Regions from separate parts of the Homo sapiens genome. Here region 2 is linked to region 1. The links are contacts of gene promoters, found by promoter capture Hi-C in blood cells and fetal thymus (Javierre and others, 2016). All regions are on one chromosome and are shown on one strand. The core of a region is centred on a gene start or on the middle of the fragment in contact, and the rest is flanking DNA. Distances in the headings are between cores, read along the strand shown. Region 1 holds the start of ZNF32-AS2 (ZNF32 antisense RNA 2). Region 2 has its middle 190 kb from the start of TMEM72.

Evidence for each region. Contacts are between HindIII fragments. The CHiCAGO score rates a contact against its expected background, and 5 or more counts as called.
Region 2: a contact is called between a fragment that was not itself captured here and the fragment with the promoter of ZNF32-AS2 in region 1, in 1 of 17 cell types (M1 macrophages). The highest score is 6.5, in M1 macrophages.

What each region holds. Positions count from the first base shown.
Region 1 is chr10:43,643,855-43,649,259 of GRCh38, forward strand. ZNF32-AS2 (ZNF32 antisense RNA 2) reads left to right here and starts at 2,088. Exons shown (of 3, transcript NR_047558.1): 1 at 2,088-2,443; 2 at 3,258-3,355; 3 at 3,715-4,165. It overlaps ZNF32 (zinc finger protein 32), which reads right to left and starts at 5,027. Exons shown (of 3, transcript NM_006973.3): 1 at 4,948-5,027; 2 at 2,210-2,348; 3 at 8-947. The coding sequence starts at 2,279. The coding sequence ends at 196. The region is part of intron 1 of ZNF32-AS3 (ZNF32 antisense RNA 3); the gene reads left to right. ZNF32-AS1 (ZNF32 antisense RNA 1) reads left to right here and starts at 18. Exons shown (of 2, transcript NR_047557.1): 1 at 18-253; 2 at 996-1,193. RefSeq lists an enhancer at 1,782-2,981 and a silencer at 4,533-5,052. The HindIII fragment of the contact is 3,514 bases long and covers 678-4,191 here.
Region 2 is chr10:44,715,279-44,720,683 of GRCh38, forward strand. No RefSeq gene overlaps it. Among named protein-coding and RNA genes, the nearest start is that of TMEM72, 190 kb to the right of the region's middle. The HindIII fragment of the contact is 188 bases long and covers 2,616-2,803 here.

The DNA.
Region 1 (5,405 bases), core at 838-3,337:
TACATGATAATGATAATAAACAAGACATTTATTTTTCATACTCTTTTGGGGGAAAGGAAAAAAATCAGTTTGCCCTACCCAATGATGGTCTTTCTGAAAGATTCTCCATTCATTCCATAGAACTGGATAGGTTGCTTCATCTCAGAGGATTTTGTACTCTTAATTCATAAAGAGAACTTCTCTTCAGGAAAGTGGTCAAAGGGTGAGCCTCTGTGAGCAGCTTCGCTGGTGCACAGCCAGACTCCCTCTCTGGGTGAAGCTTTTTCCACACTGGCCGCACAGATAGGGTGTCTCTCCTGTGTGGATTTTGCCATGCAGAATACAATTCCCCCTGGTGTGGAAACTCTTCCTGCACTGGGTACAGGCATAGGGCTTCAGGCCTGTGTGGACTCTGATGTGAACAATTAAGCTTCCTTTCTGACTGAAGGCTTTTCCACACTGATCACATCTATAGGGCTTCTCACCACTGTGAACTCTCCTGTGAACAGCAAGGTTACTCTGATTCCTGAAGCTTCTCTGACAAATAGCACACTCGTAGGGTTTCTGTCCAGTGTGGAGTCTCTCGTGGACAGCGAGACTACCTCGTTGACTGAAGCTTTTCCCACACTCCTTGCACTGATAAGGCTTCTCTCCCGTGTGTATCCGTTGATGTGTAACAAGATTGCCTTTGGCCCTGAAGCTTTTTCCACAGTGGGTGCACTCAAAAGGCTTTTGACCAGTGTGGATTCTCTCATGTAACGTTAGACTACCTTTTTGCCGGAAGGATTTTCCACACTCCTGGCACTCATAGACCCTTTGTCTCACTCCAGGTGAATCTTCCTGTAGTGTCTTCGAATCTGGGGATTTTTGTTCCAGCTTCTCTCTTCTGAAAGAATTTTGGATATCCCAGCTTGAGGATCCTGTAGCCTCAGAGTGGTCATATTTGTGGTGGGCTTCAGTCATCACATCTGATAAAATGAGAGGGAAGTCATATAAGAAGCACCAATAATGCTGAGTTAGAATAGGGAAAAAGAAACATAATACTTTGAGTGCTTATGATGTGCCAGGCCTTATTCTTTGCATAGACAATGCAATCCTGAAAACAATGCCATGAGAGTGATACAGATAATGGGAGCAAAGGGAGCCTGTCAAAGGTCACAGAGCTAGGTAAGTTAGAGCTGACTCAAATAGGCATTCTCCATAGCAGTGTACTGCCTCTAAATTTAATTTAGGCCAACAAATAACCTTGTAAGATAGACATGGTTTTCTCTATTTTACAGGTCAGAAAACAGGCTCAGAAAATTTAGAAAACTATACAGAATCACACAGAGCCCCATACCCAACTTTTATCTGACTCCAAAACAGGTGTGGATCCAGGCTATATAAGGCCTAAAACTTTCCCATTTTAGAGGCACCCTTTTAAGAAAATGTATAAAATTAAGCACAGGGTCTTGGAGAGACCAATCCAAGTGAGGGGTCCTAAAACTGAAGCTGCATTTGCTTCTTCAGAAATCCACCTCTGTCCAATCTGTTCTGACAATAGAATAAGCACCATGACCTCAGAAAATATGTAGCACAATCCTGGGTACTTTACATCTATCATTGCTAATCCCTGCAACCCTACAAGATAGAACTTATTGTCCTATTTTACAGACGAACCTGGAGCTTAAGGAAGTTAAATAACCTGTCTGATACTGCAGATCTAGCCATGGCAATTATAGAATCTGATCCAAGGAATTTTTCCCATTAAAATCCTTGCTATTTTCAGTCTACTAAGCTATGGCAAAACTGAAATCAATTTTGGTTTGGAAGTTATTCTCTATGCAGATATTGACTTTTTTTTTTCCGAATACTGCCCTGCATCTGAGCCTCCTGGTGCACTTTAAATATGGGTCCATTCATCACCATTAACAGTTTTCTTGGTGTCTGTCACTCCAGGGTAATCTTCTCCTTGTTCCCTTGCCTTATTCAGAGACAGTGCTGAGATTTAAGCTGCTCATTCATTCTCAGAGACTACTTCAACGCTACCTCCATATCAAGATGGTTCTCTTGCTCTGTTTCTACTATTACTTCTAACTCCAGCTCACAGGCTTTTCTTATAACCCTAGGAACAGCAAGCTCTACCAAAGCAAGGTCTCCTCTGCTTCCTCAGACTGCCGACCAGTGCTGAGAACAGGGACACTGAATATCTGTGAGCTGAGCGCATCCAGCCATCAACTGACTCACTCACTGAAGAACGCTACATTCTGGGCATATCTTCCATGACAGTCCAGCAGGGTAGCTGTTGGAAATCCAAACATGTCCACTCCTGCTTACGACCTCAGTCACCACCTCTTCATATGATTCTTCCATGGGCTGTTCCTGAGCACCTGAGGGAGAAAAACAAACAGAAACAAACAGGAAAGGGCAGAATAATTGATATGTGAGAAGGAAAAAGTCAACAGTTGTTGAGACATAAGTGAATGTAAGAAACCTAGATTGTTTGACATAATGTCAGTTACTAAAATATCACTGCAAAATGGGCCCAAAGGTACCAGGACCACACACAAATGAGTCTAGGAGGAAGCAGGATGTGGGAAAGCAGAGAACACATAAACATATATCTCTTCCTGCCAATCCCAAGTTAATAGTCACTCCTGTTTACACTTTGGTCTTGGCATGTAATTGGGATCTTCCATTTTGGTTCCCCACCTAACCACCTACTACTTTCTTCCCTCCAAGCCCCAGAGGAATTCAGAATCTAAGAAAACAACATTTCAGCCTTCATGATTGGTTGGAGCCAATCAGCTCTCCAGTTATCTGTAGTTACAAAGACTTAACAAGAGAGTCCATTTGTTACCACTGAACAATTCTTAGGAGGCTCCAGACCCAGACTCGCCTTTCTCTTGCTCTTGAAGATACAAGAATACCAGTTCTGACCAAGTGTAAACACTTGTCAATTCTTGGAAAAGAAAGACCTACTCTGGACTCCAAGCCCAAGGCACTCCAACTAGGTTAAGTAACTTGCCCAGAAACCCACAGAAAATAAGGAGTCAAAGTGGAGCAAAGGTTCAAATCCAAGACTTTCTGGATCCAAAATGTATGCTCTTACATTAGACAGTTGTCTAGTTCCTAATCACTAAAGAGCTGGTCAGAATGCTTATAAAATTGAACAGAAAGGAAGAGAGTTTGACCAGATTGAAGTGCTCTTTCAGATCCTAGGAATCCTCTTGTATGTGCTCTAAATTATTTTTTAATTTTTTTAAAATTCTGAGTCAAGATTTTGCTCTGTTGCCCAGGCTGGAGTACAGTGACTCAATTACAGCTTGCTGTGACTTTGAACTCCTGGACTCAACGGATCCTCCCACTTCAGCCTCCCAAATAACTAGGACTACAGGTAAGCACCACCAAGCCTGGCTAATTTTTAAAAATTATTTTAACTTTTTTTTGTAGAGATCGGGTCTCATTATCCTGCCCAGGCTGGTCTCCAACTCTTGGCCTGAAGTGACCCTCCTGCCTCGGCCTCCCAAGACATGTAGGCATGAGCTACTACACCTGGCCCACATGATCTATTTTTTAAAAAAAATATTTCTTCTTACTTCAGGATCCTAATTACTGAATTCTTATACTTTTAAGAAATGCAGTGGTTCAATGCATACTCCTTGTTTCCCTCTAATTTGTCCTATCAAAATGCTGGCCTTCTGATTTAATGAAATAATAGTATGATGCTACCATTCTTTGTTTTGTCAACCTAAGCACCTGGTTCTTCTTGACAACTGCACATTCTGCTACATGCTGTGATGACCAGGAGAATCATTTAAATTTTTATTTGGAGGACTCACTTCCAACTTGGAACACAAGCTGCAAAGGAATTCCCTACCAGCATGCCAGCACATCATTTGGAAGTTCAAGGTATTCTTGCTCAACAGCTGCACACACATTAAAAGTCCCTGGGGTACATGGCGCCTGCTGCCTGGGGTTGGACTCTGTCGCCGGGGATTCCAGAAATTAGAGTAGAATTCACAGCTCTGCCTCTCCACCTGCTGTGAGGTCTTCAAGTTACAACTCCGCCGCCTATCAGGGACCTCCGTGATTAGTAAGGGAGAAATTGTCATATTTTTCTCCCTAGATCACAGGTCTGAGGAAGCAGTTTCCCCAAGATTTTGTAAAAGTGGCTTTATAATTAAAAACATTGATTTTCCTATTAGAAAGGCTACTATATCCTTTGGAAAAAGCTTAGAAGTAGTCCGTGAGTCTTGGCTTCTTGCCGTGGCTCCCCCAGGATATGATCTTGGGCGAGTAACCCAGCAGCCCTGACTCTGCTTCCCCACTTATTAAACAGGTTACTAACACTGTCCTATCAGGTAGGACAATGAGAAGGAAAGAACCAAACAAGAGGAGTATCAGACGAGACCACCAGACTTAAGATCTAAAATCCGGCGTCCTCTGGAGGGCGGATGAGAAGAGGGGTACACTTGGCGGTCTGGAAAATGTCCTGGGGCCAGTTTCAGGTTTAGGAGCTTGTGGGTAGCGTGGTTTCCCACACGCTGCCTGGCTTCCTACTCTCCCCCGCAGGGGCTGCCTCTCCTCCCACCCCGGAAGGCCGGCACCGGCTTCCCGCACTCGCTGAAGCCCGCACGGAGGCCGGGTGAGCCTGCCGCGGCCTCCCCCTCCCACGCCCCGACGCCATGGGCCCTGCTCCTCTCCGCAGACGCTGCCCTCCCGCCTCAGGCCCCGGGCCCCGGGCACCGGGCCCGCCCTGCGTCCTGAACCTCGGCATCCCGCTCTCCGGTCCACGGGACCCTGCTCTGCGGACCGCCGACCTCTCCGCTCGCGGCTGGCCTCCCTCGGGGCCCGGGCCGGCCAGGCCTGCTCATTTCCTTGGCGGCCGCTGGCATAAGGCGGCCACACGGAGGGCCCGGGACAGCGGTCTGATGGCGCAGCCCCGCCTTGCCCCGGCGCTCTGACCCGGCCAGCGGCCTCACTCACCGCAGCGGCGCGTGCCCGCAGACAAAGGCCGGCGCCGAGCCCGCAGCAGCGCCAGCGCCGGCGCCGGCGGAATGGACTACAACTCCCAGGAGTCTCCCCGCGAGCCCGCCCGCCGGGCCGTGGGTCTCGGCGGCCCCGGCTTCCCAAGAGCTCTGTGGGAAATGTAGTTCTCTGGCGCGCCCTGCGCTCGGGCCCCGCAGGTCCCTAGGGCGCGGGGACCTCAAGCCGTCCCGTTTGGACTGGTAATCCGGAGACTCACAGCGGTGACCTGTCAGCGGACGCGGAGCCGGGACGGAGCCACGGCCGCTCAGATTAGCAGGATCTGATTGACAGCATCGGGGTAGCAGACGCTGAGCCAGGGACTCAGGAATACAGGGTTCTTGCAGGGCGTCGCGGAAGGAAACGAAGTTTTTGGGAGAAATCCGTTTGATAAAGCCTTGGCGGCTTCGAGGTCATGT
Region 2 (5,405 bases), core at 1,460-3,959, 1.1 Mb after region 1:
AGCCAGCCAAATTGTTCATCCGAATCTATTTAGCATCGAATACCGAGAAGTGAAGAAACAGACAGGGGGAAGGAAGATGAGATGCTCTGGTGGAAAACTGTTAAACATTGAGAGTACTTGGCAGGAGAACCTCAAATAAATCACGAGTGGTCTGCACCTCACAGGGAGACCCTTTGGTCCCTAGAAACCTCGGTGGGGGGTGAGACATGAGAGAGAGAAGCCAGTCAGTTCTCAGAGAATGTGGTGAAAAGACAGGCATCTCCAAGGTCCTTCCACAAACTTCCATCCTCCGCACCACTCAGGTCAGCAAGCCACAAAACTCTCATCTGTAACCCTGCCTACCAGTACTGAGTTACTGGGTTCACACAGGGTGTCACTGCTAGCTTCCACGGACCCAAGCTGATGCTCCACAGTTCTGCTGCTGGCCAGGCTGCCTCTGGAACCAGCAGTTCCAGGAGCCGTTTTCCCTGAGTGCAGAGCACGCCACTGAGTCTAGGAACATGTCAGCGGTGTGTGCAAGTGAGATGATTCTCCCTCCTGAGGCACAGAGAATCCTACAGCCTCCCACTTAATACAGAGATAGTAACAGTAACAAAACTAGCAAACTTTTACTGAATTCTATATGCTCACCCCTGTGTAATTGAATATAAGTTGTGTCCCTAAATACTCATAGAAATCTTGTGTCTTCCTAGAACTTTTCCTTGAGATTCTAAACAGATTGAGAGGTCCTTACCCGCAGTGTGTAGCACAGAGTTGACCCCGCGGTAGAGCTGATTACTTAAGAAGTGGACACTAGATGAGGACTGTCCCATAAAAACAACAGGGAGACACATATGTAATTCTAAACTTTCTAGTAGCTGCAATAAAAAACTAAAAATAACAGTGAATTAACTTTAATTATATATTCTATTTAACCCCATATGTAAAACAGTATTATTTCATCATGTAATATCAAATTATGAATAAGTAGTTTACATTCCTTTTCTGTACAGTATTTTATACTCACAGTGCACCTCTATTTAGATGAGCCTCATTTCAATGGCTGGGTAGCCACCTTTGGCTGCTGGCTACAGTATGCCCCGGGTTAAGTGTCTCTGGGCCCCACATGCACAGCAAACTCCTGACTCTCTAGAGTTTACTGGTAACAGAAAGAAAATCTGGAAGAACTCACACTAAAGGTTCTTCTTATTTATCCATTAGTGAGAATAACAGTAACAAAAACAATAGCTACTTTTAGGGTGTGTGTCTTATTCTAGATACTCTGCTAAGAGCTTTACACGACAGCAATGAATTCCCGCTGTGGGAGACCTCCACTATTGTAATGTCCTTTATTGCTGAACAAGTTCAGACTTGGAGTAGTTCTGTAACTTCCTCAAGTTTTGTAGTTAGTACCTGGCCAGACCAGCTCTGAATCCAGACCATCTGATTCACACCCCCCTACAAACAGGGACACAGGAAGGAAGGCACGGGGGTGATTCCATAGGTCTTCATGCTGCTACGCTGGATTTGGGGAAGCAGAATGCCAGGGGAACAAGAGTGTGGCTTAATGAGGTGCTGAAGAGATGAGGACCTGCTGGCCTGGAAATACTAAAACTGGAAAGAAAAATCTAAAATATTTACACCACTAAAAGAAGGAAAGCTAAGGAGAGCCTGGACACTCATTATGAATCCTTGCCTAGCAGAACTGGGGGTGGGGAAGGAAATTTGACAGCATTTGCAATCTAGAAGTAAAGATATATGACTTCATTTATGCCGTGTGAGCACTATAAAAACAGGAATCAGGCATTCAATCAACCTGAACCTCAGTTTCCATATCTGAAACATCTAATAAGACAGAATATGCAGGAATATTACTTATGTTTCTATTAAAAGTCTTAAACATAGCAAATAGTAAAATTATAGACATTATTTCTCCATTTTGTAGTATTGGCTAACATTATCAATATATTCAAAAGAAACCATATATAATTTACAAATAATTAAATCAGAAGGTTTATCAACAATACATAGGTTACTTAGATCCACTCCTAGCCTTTTGAGGAGGACATTACAGAAAATAGCCATTTATAAAATGAGATTTGAATTGAATGTAATGATTTTTATCCCTATATTATTTGAGAACTGAACCCTCATACACTCTCAACCTCAATCTCCAACACTGTGTGTGCATTTTTAATTAAATTAGTGCTATAGTTATTATATTTTACTTAAACAGTGTTTGTCAGATTCTTAGTTATTATATTATCTTTATGAGTTTTGCCTTATCTTCTCACCTGTGTATCACCAATTTAATATTTTTATGTAAATTGATTTGATAATCTCTGCCTGTTACTGAGTTTTCAGACCGGTTACATCTAATGGCATTACATTAAAATAATAATGGTAATAACAATTATTATTATAGACATTACTAGATTGAATCTGCTATTTTGTTTCTATTTGTTTTCTTCTTTGTTCTTTTTTTTCTTTTTTTTTTTTTTTTTGCTTTCTTCTGGATTAATTGAATAGTTTTCAAGATTCAGTTGTATTTCTATCATTGCCTAATTAACTATACCATCTTTTAATTTTCTTAATAGCTGCTCTAGGTTTTGCAATATACATCTTTAACTTACTGAAGCTTTCCTTCAAATAATATCATACATATTTTTTCACATATAATGTAACAATCTTATAACGGTATACTTCCACTTCTCCTATCCTTTGTGCTATTGCTTTTATATCATTCACTTTCACATATATTATAAACCCCACCATACATTCTCATCTTCTTATTTTTTGCTTTAAACAGTAAATTTTCAAAAGAAGCTTTAACAATAAGAATAAAGTCTTTTATATTTACCTACATAGTTATTATTCCTAATGCTCTTTATTTCTTTGTATAGATCCAAGTTTTTATCTGATATCATTTTCCTTTGCCTAATTAACTTTCTTTAACATTTCTTGAAGTGCAGGTCTATTGGCAATAATTCCTCCCAGCAATTTTTTATCTGGAAATGTTTATATTTCACATTTACACTTGAAATATATATATACTGGGTATAGTATTCTAGATTAACAGTTCTATTTTACTTTCAGTACACTAAAAATGTTGCTTCATTGTATTTTGGCTTATATAACTTCTGACTAGAAATATGCTATTTGTATGTTGGTCTTGTGCATATAATGTCTTTTTTCTTGCTAGCTGCTCTTAGGAATTTCTCTTTATACTTAGTTATGTGCAATTTGATTATGATGTGCTTTGGTGTTATTTTCTTTATGTATGTCCTGTTTAGGGTTCATAGATTTTATTAGATCTCTGATAAATGGTTTTCATAATTTTGCAAATTTATGAAATGGTTTTCATAAATTTGCAAAATTTATATTTTATTTATATTTTTATATTTATATTTTCAAATATCTTTCTGTTCCTCCCTCTACCTCTTCCCCTTTTATGATTCCTACTATACGTTAGACTGCTTGATACCACAGCTCATGGAATCTCTTTTATTTATCAGTAATTTATCAGTATTTATAACCTCTGTATGATTCAGTATGTAGTTTTACGTTGTTTGTTTTCAAATCTACTGATATTATATTCTGCAATGTCTGTCACCATTTCTCATGAAAGATAGATAAGACAGATAGATACAGATAGATAGGTAGATAGATAGATAGGTAGGCAGATAGATAGATTTTTCTTCTAGTTATGGGCCACATTTTCTGTTTCTATATATATCTGGCAATTTTTTATTGAGTATCAGACATAGTAGGTTTTGTTTTTTAGTTCTCTGGATCTTGTTGTATTCCTCTAATGAGTGTTACTTTTTTCTGTAAGGCAGTAAACTACTTACAGTGTAGCTTAATCCTTTCGAGTCTTATTTTTAACCTTTTCTAGGGCAGGTCTTGGGCTACTTTATTCCCACTACTATGGGATGATGTTTCTGGGATCATCACTAAATGCCCCCTGTATCCAACCAGTCTCTTTCACACTGGATAGTGAAATATTGAATGATTTCAAACTGTGCAAAATTTAGGAATTGTTCATCTTACAGGTCCACTGTCTATGTTATTTTCCTAGCAGTGTTCTTTGTCTGGTCTTGTAAAGTTTTGCCATATGCATATTAAAATTGGTATTCAGGCTGGGCACACTGGCTTATGCCTGTAATCCCAGCACTTTGGTAGGCTGAGGCAGGAGGATTGCTTGAACCCAGGAGTTTGATACCAACCTGGGCAATATATGAAGATCCAATCTCTATAAAAATTTAGAAATTAGCCAAGGGTAGTTGCACATGCCTGTAGTCTGAGCTGCTTGGGAGGCTGAGGTGGACGGATCACTTGAGCCTGGGAGGCAGAGGTTACAGTGAGCTGAGATTGTGTCACTGCACTCCAGCCTGGGTGACAGTGACACCCTGTCTCAAAAAAAAAAAAAAAGATTAGTATTCAGCCAAAGACTCAATTCAGCTTTTTGGAGCTTTTCCACTGTGTAATTAAGTCCTTACTTTATGGTACTTTGTCCCACCAATTCTAACTGCCTCATCCTTCTTGAACTCTGATCTATGACATGTGAACTCAGAGAGATCCCAGGCTCTGTTTGAGTTTCTGCTCCCTGTGTCGTGGTCCAGAACTTACTCCCAGGTAGAATAGCAGGGTGACCATGGGATTACCTCCTTTGCTTCCATTTACTCACATGTCATAGTCTGGTCCTGTCTATTGCCCAGTGTTTGAAAGCAGATGTTTCATCTATTTTGCCCAGTTTTCTAGTTGTTATTGTTGTTGTTATTTTACTGTCATTACCTTCATAAGAGTCACTTCTTCATGGATGAATGCAAAAGTCGTTTTTATTTAAATTAAACTCCTTTTAAAAGTTATTCAAGTCAGTTAAATTATCATTTTAGGCACTAGTTACAATTTTATCACGCATATTAAAATAACTATACATTTTAAATAATGACATAATTATTAAAATAAAAGTATGGATTTGTATACCATTTTAAATCATCTTGAGGCTTTCTAGGGACACAAATATCATACTTTGGGAAACTTTGTATAAATATTTTGGGTGGATGTGTATGAAACAAGATCAGCATTTTATATAATAGCAGGATCTAAATCAAAGGATGAAATGACACCTGAAATCATTCATTTAGGAAAAAAATGTATTTCTTTTGTTGTTTAGAAACAGAGTGACTCTGTTGCCCAGGCTGGAGTGCAGTGGCATGATCATGGCTCACTGCAGCCTCGACCTCCTGGGCTCAAGGGATTCTCTTGCCTCAGCCACCCAAGTAGCTGGGACTATAGGCACACACCACCACACCTGGCTGATTATTTAATTTTTTGTAGAAACAGGCTCTTACTATGTTTCTCAAGCTGGTCTGAAACTGTTAGTCTGAAACTCCTGGCCTGGGATGATCCTCTTGCTTCAGCCT